Linked DNA regions of Homo sapiens: region 1 is linked to region 2. The links are contacts of gene promoters, found by promoter capture Hi-C in human tissues and cell types (Jung and others, 2019). All regions are on one chromosome and are shown on one strand. Each heading gives the region's core, a stretch centred on a gene start or on the middle of the fragment in contact. The rest is flanking DNA. Distances are from core to core; before and after follow the strand shown.

What was found. Contacts are between HindIII fragments. The study calls those that stand out against the background at their distance.
Region 1: a fragment that was not itself captured here is called in contact with the fragment with the promoter of GNB4 in region 2 in 1 of the 25 tissues and cell types used here (hippocampus).

The regions. Positions count from the first base shown.
Region 1 is chr3:179,965,854-179,972,783 of GRCh38, reverse strand. It overlaps PEX5L (peroxisomal biogenesis factor 5 like), which reads left to right. Exons shown (of 15, transcript NM_016559.3): 2 at 1,119-1,190. All of the region lies in intron 1 of LOC124909463 (a long non-coding RNA gene), which reads right to left. Among named protein-coding and RNA genes, the nearest start is that of PEX5L, 68 kb to the left of the region's middle. The HindIII fragment of the contact is 3,312 bases long and covers 442-3,753 here.
Region 2 is chr3:179,449,192-179,456,278 of GRCh38, reverse strand. It overlaps GNB4 (G protein subunit beta 4), which reads left to right and starts at 4,809. Exons shown (of 10, transcript NM_021629.4): 1 at 4,809-4,933. It also overlaps the pseudogene RPL29P34. RefSeq lists silencers at 4,639-4,788, 4,829-5,238. The HindIII fragment of the contact is 18,692 bases long and covers 1,750-7,087 here.

The DNA.
Region 1 (6,930 bases), core at 848-3,347, 520 kb before region 2:
AAAAATGTGTAAATCTGGTTTTTGAATGTTATGGGGAAAAAATAAGAATTGTGCTCACAGTGTGAAGATTTATATCATGTTCACTGAAGGATATATCTCTTCCCTGAATGAGATGAGGACCCTAATATGACACAGTAGATGCAAACATAAGTATTTTTAATTCCCTTAATTCAAGTTGATGTAGTTAATAACTAAAGCAAGAATCTTTAAAATAAATAAATAACCTTGAACTACAGCTAACTATGTAGTGGTTTTTATTTTTCATTTGTTGCTGGTATGAAGACACAACATGACATTTCTAGTATTCTCATCAACCGTTGCGTTGGGAGAAAAAAAGGCTCAGACATATTATCTTTCTGCTGTAGCACAAGTGTAAAATGATTATCATTATCTATGTCCTTTTCTAACTTTAGAATTTATAGATTTTGCAATGGAGGAAATAGATGGAGAGTGGTCATTGGGACAAAATAAATGATGACAAAATGCCAAAAAAAAAAAAGTGCATTTACATAAACTCTTAAAATAGTCTGTCCTCCAACTTTTCGAATACCTAATTTTGTAAATTATTTTAGTTATCTCTTTAAAATTATTTCTGAGTTGGTTTTTCCAATGTCAGTATTCATCTGACTTGTGAGCAAATGTTGAAAATCTGAAGATTCATTATCTGAGTTGCATAATACTTCTATTATTCTTAAAAATATGTAAGACATTAAAACAAAACATTGAATAGTTGGAAGTCTTGAGTATAAAGCTAAATGAACTTTCAATCTTTAAGAAAAATGTGCTAAGGCTCTTCAAAGAATTGCTTATTTATCCCAAAGTGTTAAAGAATCTTTTCTGATACTATAGAACTAAAAAGAGAAGCATAAGAATATTGAGAAAAAGATTAAAGGTATAAGTTGGGTAGTGGAGGCTAAGCAGATATTGTTAATGAATAATTATAAGACAGCAGTTTAACAATAAAAACATTTGCTGTTGTACATGAGCAATTTATATAAAGAATGATGCATTATGACTGGTGAACAAGGCTAAGACTTTTATCTTTAAAAATATTAAGTAGAATTAAGATTGTTAATGGATAGAAACTAAATGATCATTTAAAATTATTCTTTCACAAGAAAAGTAAAGAACAAGGATATGGAAAACTAAGCAGTGATGAAGACCTCGAAATAATTGTTGATCAAAAGCAGGTAAGTGAATACTTACGTACATTTTCTACTGTTCTACTGTATATTTTGATGACTAAAGCCTTTTGAGTGTTCAGCCCTTCTCTGGCAGCTGTATTAGCCTGTCTGACTAAAGCCTGCATAACAAGATTTTGAGAGCAGCTAAGCCGCTCCATATGATGCCTCTGATCCACTGACTTTTGCATGATGCCAACATGCATATTTTGTATGTAAGAATGATGGAAATAAAGCTAGAACAAAAGAACTTTTGGAAAATTAAAGGCATCTCTTGATAAAATGAGTCAAAACACCAATGATAATCTGGGAAAAAGATAAACAAGAACAATAAAATATATTATCTTGAAAATGAGAAACACTGCCATTATTCTATCTTGTAAAACAATGGATATAATTGAGAGAGAGAAAGAGAGAAAACTGAAAACCTTAAGACATATATATTGCCCAATTTAATTTTCCAGATTGTCTGCAATATATATAAAGATGATTCTGAAAACAAAAAGAAGAGGCTATTTAATAAAATCTGTAGTACCACCTGTAATTTGAGAAACCACTAGCTTGGATGTTATATGGGCCCATAAGGTGAAATGAAAACTGCTTAATAGAGCATAAACAATGACATACCAGGTAATGGAAGGTTTCCAGCCCATGCCACTGAATTGGTACTAGCCCTTAACATCTCTGTTAATTATCAAGGAGACAAGATAACTGCACATTTATTTAATGCCTGGGTGGCACAGCATCTGAGAGCGACGCAAAAGCTGTAGAGAGAGAAATAATTCAAAGAGATCTGAGTAGATTAAGAGATTAGAGAGAAAGCAGTCAGTAATTTACAGAAAGGCACCTGAATTTGCTCAATTTCCTAATCATGCAGTTTGTTTTGCATCATAACAGTTGCATTCAGGGAGCTGTTGTACATATTTCTGAAAAAAGGAAAAATGACCATCAGAAGGTAGCAACCAGAAATAACTGACTTAGAGACTTGCTTGTTAGTCTTGGAATAACTGAGGTAACTGAGGTGGTCTTCTGGAAAAACTTGCCAAAACATCTCTCTACCGAGGTGCAGAATATATTGATTTTACAGCATTCACTCAAAATGCTTCCGAGTTTTTCTTATCATTGCTCTCCTGCTCCTGGGTAAAACAGGGTAGGGGATGTGTGGAGTGCCAAGTTATCAGTTTAGTTAATAAGGTGGGTGGAACTGTAGCCCATGTGATCTACTGGGCTATTAACTATCACTTTATGCCAGATTAAATACTTGGGGCATGCAGTCTATGTCTGATCCCACCCATAGACTGGGATTCTGATCAAAGGACTGGACCCACCTGGCAAATGAACTAGTAAAATACACCTGGGTATATTATGAGAATACAGATATGTGTACATTTCTCTAATAAAATGAAAAATTAGTTATTTTCTTCCTTAATCATATAGAAGTTAAATTCTTTTTTTCTTCTTATTTACTATCTTCCTACCCCAAAGCTTTTCTTTTCTTTCTTTCTTTTTTGCCTAAATCTTTGCATTTTAACTGAGTTTTGGTGTTCAGAAAACTGCAAAGTTATATTTTGAGATCCTTGTGGTGAAAAGCCAAAGGAAGCCATTGTTCTTTTTTTCTCATGATACCTTTGACAAAATTTCTATTGTTGTGACTAAACACATTTTACTAATTGTTAAGGAATCTTAAAGAAAAAAGAGAAAAAATAAGAGAACAAAACCTTCCTGCTTCTTCAGAAAATAGCACTTTTATTACCTGGATCAAATGAGGGTGGATTCAATTTTCTCAGAGTCGCTGTTTGCCTCTGTAGTTATCACATTTCTTCCAGTGCCATTGCACAAGTTGGTACTGTTTGGCAGTGACTCAGCTTTGCTGAGTTATTCATGTCAAAACATGTTTCAAAAGATGAGTAATTATGAATATGAGTTGGCTTTGGTGTTTGCTGTTGGCAGAAAGAGTAGTCCTTCCTTTTTTTGAAAGATTTATTTGGTGTTGATGTTGTGAGCAAATCCTAGGTTGAAACAACGACAATGTTGATATCTCAAAGTAAAATATTTGGGGAAACACTGTAATTGGTCTTTATAAAGCTATAAGAAATTATCCCAAAGTTTAAGAGGTCAACAAATTAAGCATGTGTGTATGTATATGTACATTTGTTTTCCAGAAAATGAATATTGCCTCATCTCGTAGATATGAGTTATACATATATGATGACATTATACATATATATGTATTTTATATGTATAATAAAATTAAAACTCTATAGCATTATATGCCATTTTGTCAGGAATCTTTATTTTCAGTTTATTCTTCCTATATCTTTTCAAAAACATGGTAGAAATATGTTATAGTTAATCTTCATGTAACTGCAAGTAGATTTTTCAGTAAGTGGTGCCAAAAGAAAATCTAAAGAGGATAAATAAAATAATTGGAATGCTGCAATGGGCAGAAGTCTCCTAATTTCTTTAAATCTGTCATTCAGAAGCTGTCACTCTACAAATGCTGTGTATGCTATATGCCATTTTATCAGTCATGTGATTTGCAAATCTTGTACTTCCACGGAAAGCCTACAGTCTTGCTTATATAAGCAAATTAATAACAGAAGCAGCACCATGTATGTGGATTTTGTTCTCCCTGGCTGCCTTCTCTCAAGGAGGTAAAAGATGATTTCTGTGTTATTTCAACATGGAAAAAAAAGTGTATTTCGGAAATGTGTAAGGTTCTATTCTTTAAAGACAATGTTGTGTTTCTCTCTTTGTGAAATTGTATTGACAAAATTTATTTGGGATATGTATAAAAACATTTCAGAGAACACTTAAATGAGTGTTGATGTCTTATGGTAATAGGTGCCATATGATACACAGACACACAGACACACACAGACACACACACACACACACACACACAGTCATTTAAATAGAAATGTATCACACTGGGGTCAGAGTCCATATTTTCCACCAGAAATCTCCAAGGTTTTCAAACTTTAAGCGTAGAAGGTAATCAAAGGGAATGTATTGGATTAAAATCTTAATGCCTCCAAAACCCAAACATTTGACATAAAAATAATATAACTAATTAGTAAATGCTATATTTGTCTTTGTAAAATAAATATTAAAAGATAAATTTTAAACATCTATTATGGCATATTTTTATTATTTGTGAAGCTATTCCTTCCTAAATGGAGGAAAGGAGGGTCTTGTTTAGGTTTCATGTACACATTAATTTCCTTCTGGAGTTACTGATATTTCAAGTGTGGGAGTAGATAGTCAAGTGCCTTGACTTAAGGGATTAAAAACATTAACCACTTTTAGTGAATTCATTCTATTATAAATTACTATTTTTAGTTAGAGCCAACTTAACTCAAGGTTTATGATAAGCTGGACCTAGATAACAATTTTTTAAAATGTTTTCAAATTCCAAGTAGACTTAAAAGAGGTAACAAAGACTAATAAATTTATAGACTATTTTGATTATATGATGGATACAGTTACAGGTTCATGTATTGTAAAAATGGGTTTAACAGCATGTTGTGGATTTATTGGGTTATAGGACTCAAAGTTGCAGTTTCATAGCCTTTAGTGCAAGCAGGTTGGGAAATGTCAAATTTCAGCCAGTTACAAGGGGAACAAGTATATCCAGGTCAGAGCAATAGTTCTCAAGCTTTAGCTGTTTCAGCATCCCCAGGAGGGCTTGATATAACATAGATTACTGGATCCCACCCCCGGGGTTTCTTATTCTTCAGGTCTGAGATGCGTGCAGCCTGACAATTTGCATTTCTAAGTATTCAGCTACTGCTGCTGGTTCCAGACCACACTTTATGAATCACCGGGTCAGAGAAAACAACTAATGCAGTTTTAAAGGAGGAAAAAATATGTAACTTGTGATAAATTTAACATTCTTCAACCTGGCATTTACCCAGGGATCTAAAAACTGGAATTCATCAGCATTTAACGTAATAACAAGACCAGAAAACAAGAAAACCACAGCCATTTACAACCAAAGGTACCTTTAAAGAACCAGGTTTGCAGTCTGGCTAAATCCACATGGAAATCTGGTAATCTTGAACCTCTCTAAGCTCAGTTTTCTCATTTTCAAATAAGTTTTCTGATATTATTTGTAAAATGATACTGTGCTTTTCCCACCTCCTAGAGTTTCTCTGAGTTAAAATATGTAAAAGTGCTCTATAAAGTGTATAACATTTATGTCATTTTAATTAGCTAGGCATCACCACTTCACTCTCCACCTCCCTTCATCCCCAGTTTAGCAAATGAGAACTTTGAGATCCAGAAAAGTGAATTAAGTTGCCCAACTCCCTGATTAGGTGCAGAAGAGCCCTAGAAGCCAGCTCTCCCTCCTGCCATCCAGTCCCATGCTCTTTCTGTCACCTCACATAGCTCTGTACCATTGCTCATTACTGATCATGCTATGAATGGATTAAGAAGCTGTTTTGCCTCAGTGCTCTAATTGTATAAAATAACCATCTACTAGGAATTATCGTAATTGGTCAACATTTATTTATTGAACCCTCACAGGAATAAACTTCCCTACAAACACTCCTTAACTGTTTACTTCCCTCTTGAGCCCTATGGCTTTGTCAGGAGATAAATGCCCCTTAAAGCAAATGTAAATAAAACTAGAGCTAAAAGTAGTTATGAAGACCGCTTGCCTTTCCTCTCACAACCTCCTCAAGGAGAACGTCTACCAGGCATGAGAAGGGGCCCTGGGAAGAGACAACACATACTCATCTTAGCTTACAGCCTTTTTGAGAGTCTCATTTTCACCTTGTAAAGGAAGCCTGAGCAGAAAGCAACGGACACTAGAACTTCTGTGATCTTTTTCTAAAGAAAAAGAAGAGATAAATTATAACCTCACCCTTGTGTCTCCAATAGCTCATAAGCATTCAAGTTGGATTGCAATTCTGTCCTAGTGGTTGTTGTGAAAATGGATCCTCAAGAGGAAAATATAGGCCAACATGAAATTAAAATGGAAGAACAAGAAAAACAGATTAACGGAGAAGATACCCAGCTTATCTGGTGCTAATAGATAGTCCTACCAACATCTAAGCAACTAACTTTGGTCTCAGACTCACAAATAGTAAAAAGGATGAGGGTAATATGTGTTCCTGCCTTGTCGTTGTTGTGGTCACCAGCCCCATCTGGCCAATGCTTTCTTGGTCATATCAATGTGGTGACTTAATTTAAATGTAATTCAGATCCCATTTACCCCTGAGGACACTTACAAAGTATGATACCCTGTCTCTTGGTATTAGGTGTAACACTGTCCCTGGGTACCTTCTTAGAACTCTGTATTTGGTCAGAAGAACAGAAACCTCCTCTAGAGTTGCAGAAAGGAGACCACCTGCTCAGCCTGCAGATTCTGAAGCATGAAACTCTGAGACATTCGAAGGACACAGCACATTATGCAGTTGTAGTTGCCTTAATTACACTCACAGCAGACATAGGCTCATTAGTGTTTTCCTCAGGAAAGATTGATCGATGAAAAATAATTGAATGAAAAGAAGCCAGATTTATTTGGAATGAGAGAGACTATTCAAATTTGCTATCTATCTGAAATCAGCATTGGAGTAAACAAAGATTCACTGTTGCAGTCCAATCAATCCCATCTTGTCTGCAAACTATTTATCATCAATAAATATTGTACACAGAAGGGGGAAATTTCTTCCATTAGGTTAAATAGAAAAGTTACTAGAGTGAAAGCATAATCACCCTGTGTTTTATTCCTAAATATTCT
Region 2 (7,087 bases), core at 3,560-6,059:
TCTACAAAAATACAAAAAAATTAGCTGTATGTGGTGGCACATGCCTATAATCCCACCTACTCAGGAGGCTCGAGAATCACCTGAGGTTGCAATGAGCTGAGATTGCGCCACTGCGCTCCACCCTCAGTGACGGAGCGAGATCTTGTCTAAAAAAAAAAAAAAAAAAAAAAAGTCTATGTCCCTATTACATGAATTTGTGACTGCCTAGACCAAGTGAGGATAGTGGAAGCAACACTATGTGATTGCTGAGGCTAAGTCATAAAAATGCTATGCATTTCCTCCTTGTTCTCTTGGAACACTTGCTCTTAGAACCCAGCCACTCTAATGCAAGGAATTCCAAGTAGCCCGTGGAAAGCCCTACGTGAAAAGGAACTGAAGTTTCTGCCCACACACCTGGCTGATCTTCCAGCTAGCAGCCAGCACCAACTTGCCAGCCATGTGAGAGTGCCATCTTAATAAGAGTCAAACTATCTGAGCCAGCATGGAACAGAGAACACGTCTGCCAAGCCCTGCCCATGTTGGAAATTCATGAACAAATTAAATAATTGTTGTTGTCCTAATCCACTAAGTTTGGTGACTTGAATAGAGCAATAGATAACTAATATGTCATCTCATTTTTAAACTCATGTTTTTACTCACTTAACAGAAACAGATCAGAGTTCCTTTTGAAAATGTGGTGTTCAGAAGAGTTCTTGGGATGAAATGAAGCTTACAGGGCAAGAGTCCACGATTGATTAGTGAAGTCATCCCCGGACATAGTCTGAGAGATGGCACCAGTGTTGTCTATTTGTCAATCGTATTAGAATTCAGCACCTTCATTTTATATAATTAAGACAGAATGCTGGCAGGGTAAGATCTGCTTAAGATCACACAGACATTTAATACCAGAGCCAAAGCTCTAAATCAAGTCTTCTGATGTGCAGTTTAGTGTTTTTTCACTTTGACATGTCCCTTTCCGGGGACCTGAATTCCCTGATTTCCCTGAATTCCCTGATTCCAGGGACCTGAATGACAGGACATAGAGCAGCAGATATATGCCTGCATGCTTCTAGTTCCCTCTCCCATGCCTGTGACAGATATCATTGACCCTCTCTTAAGGTCACTGGGATGCACTTGGATGACAGATTCCAAATTCCCATGGTTAACGAGAACCTGAGTGGAAATAAACAAAAGCTATAACTGATTTGTACCACCAGTGTCAGAGGAGTACAGCAAAGGTGACTCAAAGTACAAACTGTACTTTGATATGGAAAATGCATTGTGTGTGAGCAAGAGGGAAGGCTTTAGGCATGACTACTCTGTATCAAGGATGTCTGTCTGAAACCACACATAGACTGACTTCTTACAGAATCTACTAGGGAATTGCTTCTCATGTCCTTGGGAAACTGTGCTGTAGATCCTGTTAGATAATTTCCATTTAATATTTTATAACTTATTTTGTTGTGGGTGAAATAAAATCTGTTACGGTAGTTGTGATGTTGTATGTATATAATTTGGCCTCATTTCAAACACAATAGAATTGGAATGCATACAACACATACAGGGCGGTACTGAAATATTGTACACTTTAATAGCTGTGTTCTTCACGGTGTGCTTGGCATCGTCTGAGAGCAAGGTAGGCTCAGAAAAAAATATAGACCATTTCTAGGGTAAAACTTAAAAGCAGGATATACAAACCTATGGCACTATGGATTACAGGGTAGCTCACTGAGTACAGCATTCAGATTCATCCAATGTAGGACCAAGAGCAGAGCTTCTCTGAACTTGATCATAGTGAAGCAAAACACCCTGCAAAAGAAACTGTAACTAAACTCCTAGAAAAGCAATGACCACTTTCTCCTCTCCTATGATTCTGACTAGCGTGTGGGATGGGGTGAGGTATGCAGGTTATTTGCATAAAACAAGCAGCCAAGTGCATTCACTCATTTATTTGTTCGTGGAGTACCTAGCAAATGCAAGGTGCTCTGTTAAACACTATGGCAGACACAAAGATGAAACGGACAAGGATTTTGTCTTCAAAGGTTCTCTAGTAGGGACCCCACTATGCTCTCTTAATAGAGTAGGATTTGAGAACATGGGCCTAATGAGTTAGAAATCTAATTATCAGCCAGTGGCACCCAAACAAAAGATCATGGGGCTTAATCCTCAGAAGTAGGATACATCTCTACAATTGTCTACACAAACCAGCAGGCATCAGAAATGTTAATAGCATACCCCTTCACCTTTCTCTCTGCCTCCCTTCCCAGTCTCTCTCTTTTGTTCTTCGTGGATTTCATTATCATTGGAAAAATCATGAATTGCTGGATCACTTAGATGCATTAGTGTGCTCTTATGAAATCATTCCTGATGACAAAATTCTTTTAATCAGCTCCACTTTCAGATTTTCAGTATAGGCTTGTCCTTTAACAAGTAAGTTTTTTTTTTTTTTTCCAGAACAATATGGAGCAGGTATGGCAAAACAGAAATACAATATTCTTGGAAGTAGATTCGTTTGGATAATAATTAAACTTTCCTTTTTCTGTACTTGGACTTTATTCTTCTAGTAATTTCTTTGTCTACATTAAATTTTCAGGAAGATTGACGATATCATTCTTTTAAACTCTTTAAAAGACAGTCAAATTCTTGTTACATCTTTTCAGGTTTTGTATTTTATGTTTAGGAGCTGTTCATTTATATTTCCCCTCATCTTTTCTGGAATAGACTATCTCATTGCTTCCCACTGTGTTTTCCTAAATACCAGCAACTTGTTTTTCAACAAATAATCTTAACCCAACAACCAGCTCTCAAAGCTTTATAACATCTGGTAAATGCTAGTGCACAGGAACAAGGCAGAAAAGAATCTAAAGAAAGAATATGGGGCCGGGATCGGTGGCTCACGCCTGTAATTCCAGCACTTTGGGAGGCCGAGGTGGGCGGATCACCTGAGGTCAGCAGATTGAGACCAGCCTGGTCAACACGGTGAAACCCCGTGTCTACTAAAAATACAAAAAATCAGCCGGGCGTGGTGGCTTGTGCCTGTAATCCCAGACTTGGGAGGCTGAGACACGAGAATCGCTTGAATCCTGGAGGTGGAGGTTGCAGTGAGCTGACATCACATCACTGCACAGTGACTCCGTCTCAAAACAAAAAAACAAACAAAAAAAAGAAAGAATGTGGGCTTTGGAGTTGATCCAATCTGATGTCATGCAGGGCTCTACCAATACCTTCGTGACTCCGATAAATTAATCTTACCAGGGCATCAGTTTGCTTATCTGTAAAATGGGGATAAAATTCACACTTCAAGGTAATTATGAGGATTAAGTACAGTATAAGAAAGCAGAGAGCATGGTCCGTAATAGGCACTCTTTAACAATTTCCCTTTGCTTCCTCCGAAAAACGACAATCATAAAACTCAGGATTTAATCATTAAAACATAAATAGTTACAGATGCAAAACACTCATGTCCCAACGAGCTCTTCTGACACTTTGATATGCAGAATATTTGGCATTTCTTTCTTCTTAATGGAAAAATGCTCCTAATATTAGTAAAAATGAAAATTTTGGGGGAAAAATTATCCACAGTTTCTTTATCTGTGGATAAAGAAAATAGAAACAGCTGCTTCTATTTTTGTCACGGCCTGGCTTTTATACAAAACGGTCACATTTTCCCCACAGTCACAAACAGGGTGTGTTTATCATGGCATCACCTCTTTCAAGGGACTAATAGATTTATTCCAGGTGATAGTGGGAAGCAGCTACAGAAGGAGGATTGGAAGGCTGAGGGGTTGTTAAAGTTATCTGATGATATTGTTCGAACATTTCTCCGGCACAGAAACTCCACAAAGAACTCCTCTGCAGTTTTCGCTACCCAGGGCTGTTTCTTTAAATTGTTTGACGTCAGAGAAGGAATGCTATAGCAACAGTCTGTCAAACTGGAATTAACTCAGAAGAAAAATGGGGGTGGGGAGAGGAAAAATGCTCCCAGGCGGTACTGACTTCAGAGGAAGCAAATTGGATAGATGCATTTATTTTATGACATTTTAAACATAAAACACCCAGATAAATGTGAAAAAAAAAAAAACTCGATTGAGATGCATGTGGTGTTTAACTCATGCAGAGAAGAGCGACTTGGCAGGGATATCTGGAAGGCCTTCCAGTTTTATCAATGACAATAGGAACAATAACTTCCAAGTATTGGCCATTTATTTGGAGGCAGGCTTCGTGCAAACATCACTTCATTTAATATGCTTAGCACCTTTATGAGGCAGGTATCAGTATCTTTATTTTGGCGATGACGAAACTTAGGCCCGAGACGGTACACGGTCCTACAACTAGTGATGGAAGAGCGGGGACTGCAACGCAAGGTTGTGCAACTCTGGGCTTCAGTTTACTTTCTGACATTTAGAATTCCAGAATGGGAAACCTAAATGGGGCCTTTGGGGTCTTCTAGCTCTGCCCTTCGATCCTGCTAACAAGCAAACTGGCGCCTGTCAGCGCCGGAAAGGAAACTGGCCACGCCACTTAGACGGGCGCTACTTAGCAGCGTGCCCCGGCGCCACACCAACAAGAAAACGAAACTGCCCGGGAATGAATGTTTTTCTTCTCCTTCTGGCAGGAAACGAGAGAGAAAATAGGAAGCAGAAGCTGCGCGCGGCGCCCGCTCCCTTCGCCCCCCGCCCGGGCTGCGCGCGCTCCGAGGGTCTGCGCGTCCCCGGCACGTCCCCGCCGGGCCCGCGCGCCTCGTGCCTCGCGCCTCGCGCCTCCAGCCACGTCCCCGCCCCGGCTCCGGCGCGCCGCGGAGTTGGCTGCTGGGAGGTGCGGGACTGGGTGTGGCCGGCGGCTCTGGTCTCGGCTGTGAGCTGCGCTCTCCACGCCGGCTCCGCGCTCCAGGGGCTGCTGAGCGCCCAGCGGACACCGGCAGCGCGCGGTCGACGCGGGCCTGAGCTCCCTCCAGGTAGGCGGCGAGCTCGCGAGCGGCGGCTCGTCGGTGCGCCCCGCGAAGCGATCCCGGGCTTCTCGCAGGGACGTGGGGCGCCGCGAGCCACCCCTGCGGAACGGGGCCCGGGTGACGGCGCGGGGCGGGGCGGGTCTCCCCGGGCTCGGGCGGCCGACGCTGCCCGGGAGGGACGAGGAGGGCGCGCCTGTGTCGCGCCCAGCTGCCACGCGGGAACTGGCCCCACGACCGCCGGCGCAGGCACTTCCCGGGCGGTCCAGACCGCTCGCCCCGGGGAGCGAGGAACGGTCGGCGGTCCAAGTCCTGCAGACCCCCCTGGTTTCTCGTCACTCCCCGAGGCCTCCTTCCAGGAACTCAGAGCACGAGCCCGTGCGTGCCCCCAAAATAACGGGTATTCGGGACTGCCCAGCAGGGCTGTTGGGTGGAGAGTGCTTGGAAGACTCATAAAAGTTCTACGCTGAGTCCAAAATTAGTCCAATGGTTTTGTTTCAGATTTATTTTGGAAATGATATAATGTCCAGAGTTTGGGGATGGGAGGGGATTGATGAATTTTGAATACTTGTGAGTTCAGTACAATAAAAAGTGTTTTGCTTTTCTCTCCACCTTTTTCTGCTTCAGAACACAGATGATTGCCATATACTTTGATATGTATTGCTATTCGCTAAGGGAACGTTGAATTTTCAAAAGTTTGAAACCAGGCTTTCATTTGTTTATACAAGCAATACTTTGTTATTTTTCGTCTCCTTGTGTTCCCTTTTCTCCCACTCCTTCCCTTTCTCTTTCCATAAAGGATAAGGATGCATCTTTCTCCCTCTCAGCCACCGACAAAGTAGCTTGGCGTGTGGCTTAGCGGGAAGTTTTCTTAAAACGTTCAAAATTTAATTGTTGATTAGAACTTTTATTATGAGTCCGTCTCAGTGTTGCAAACAGAGTTTATGACCATTAAGTACATCTTCTAGGACAGAGACAGAACACACGCTACTTAATTTAAGATGGGAGGGAAGTTATTTCTAGTCGGAGAGGAGGACGGCTGATTAGGTGCATTCAAAATTGTGTGCTTCGAGTCTCTGCCATTGTTCATTTTAATACTCTTCAGTTTGGGGCTTTTGGTTTACTACTGATCCTAGGCTCTGAAAATTTACTGTATATTTCAGTATGTGGCTTAAAGACATTTTAAGATTTTCCATGTTGCATTTTGGTTTGTAGATGAATTTGAAACTGAAATAGAAACTTTTAAAATATCATCTTATTGAACGTTGTCAACCCTCTGTATATACATTTATAAAACTGATTGATACAGCTTGTGATATTTTAGGTTGGTTCAACTCTTTGTGGGCCCATAAACATTATTTAGGAAGTTATTCCGAGTCTTTGGCCTTTGTTAACCTGTAGAATTGTTTCTTTTAAACAATTGGCATGTAAGTATGTCAGCACATACTTTTACACTTTAAAAATAGACTCTGGGGCAATTTGAAAATTAAGAATTGGAACTAAGTGTTGGACATTCTTCTGGCCTTACCAAATACTGCCTGAGATGGTGTGATTTCTCTTAGGCATGTTATTGAAGTCAGCTGGCTGTATCATCAGTTTCTTTACCTTGCTGACTATTTTAATCTGCGTCTGTTATGGACTTATTTATTAAAATATCTCTTCTGGGCTGGGGCAGTGCTGTAAGTTATTCTACTTATATCTCACAGTAACACCATTATCTACTTCCACAGGTAAGGAAATTGTCTGTGAGGTTTTAAGTAACTTGGCAGTGGTCATGTAGGTGTTAGGTAACTCAACTGGGATTCGAAGCAAGACCCCTCTGTTTCCAAAGTCCATGTTCTTTCCCCTGAGCCATATTAACTTAGTTCGAGGGCATGAGGAGTGACCCTCAATTACTCATTAGCATGTGTGTAAAATATCCAAGACATGCCAGAAGCATGTTTGTTTTTCCAGCATGATCATTATTGTCTGTCCCATGTTTTTATACAGCTTCTCACATCAGCCATTCTCTTCTCACCACTCTACTCCTAGTTAAATGTCTTGTTCCAAGTTCAAAACCTCCCTTTTGCCAGGGCACAGTGTATCCTATTGATATTAATAGGTAGTGATGGCTTAATTATCTTGATAAAACAGTAACTCCATTTTAATGTGGGTTCTCTAGAG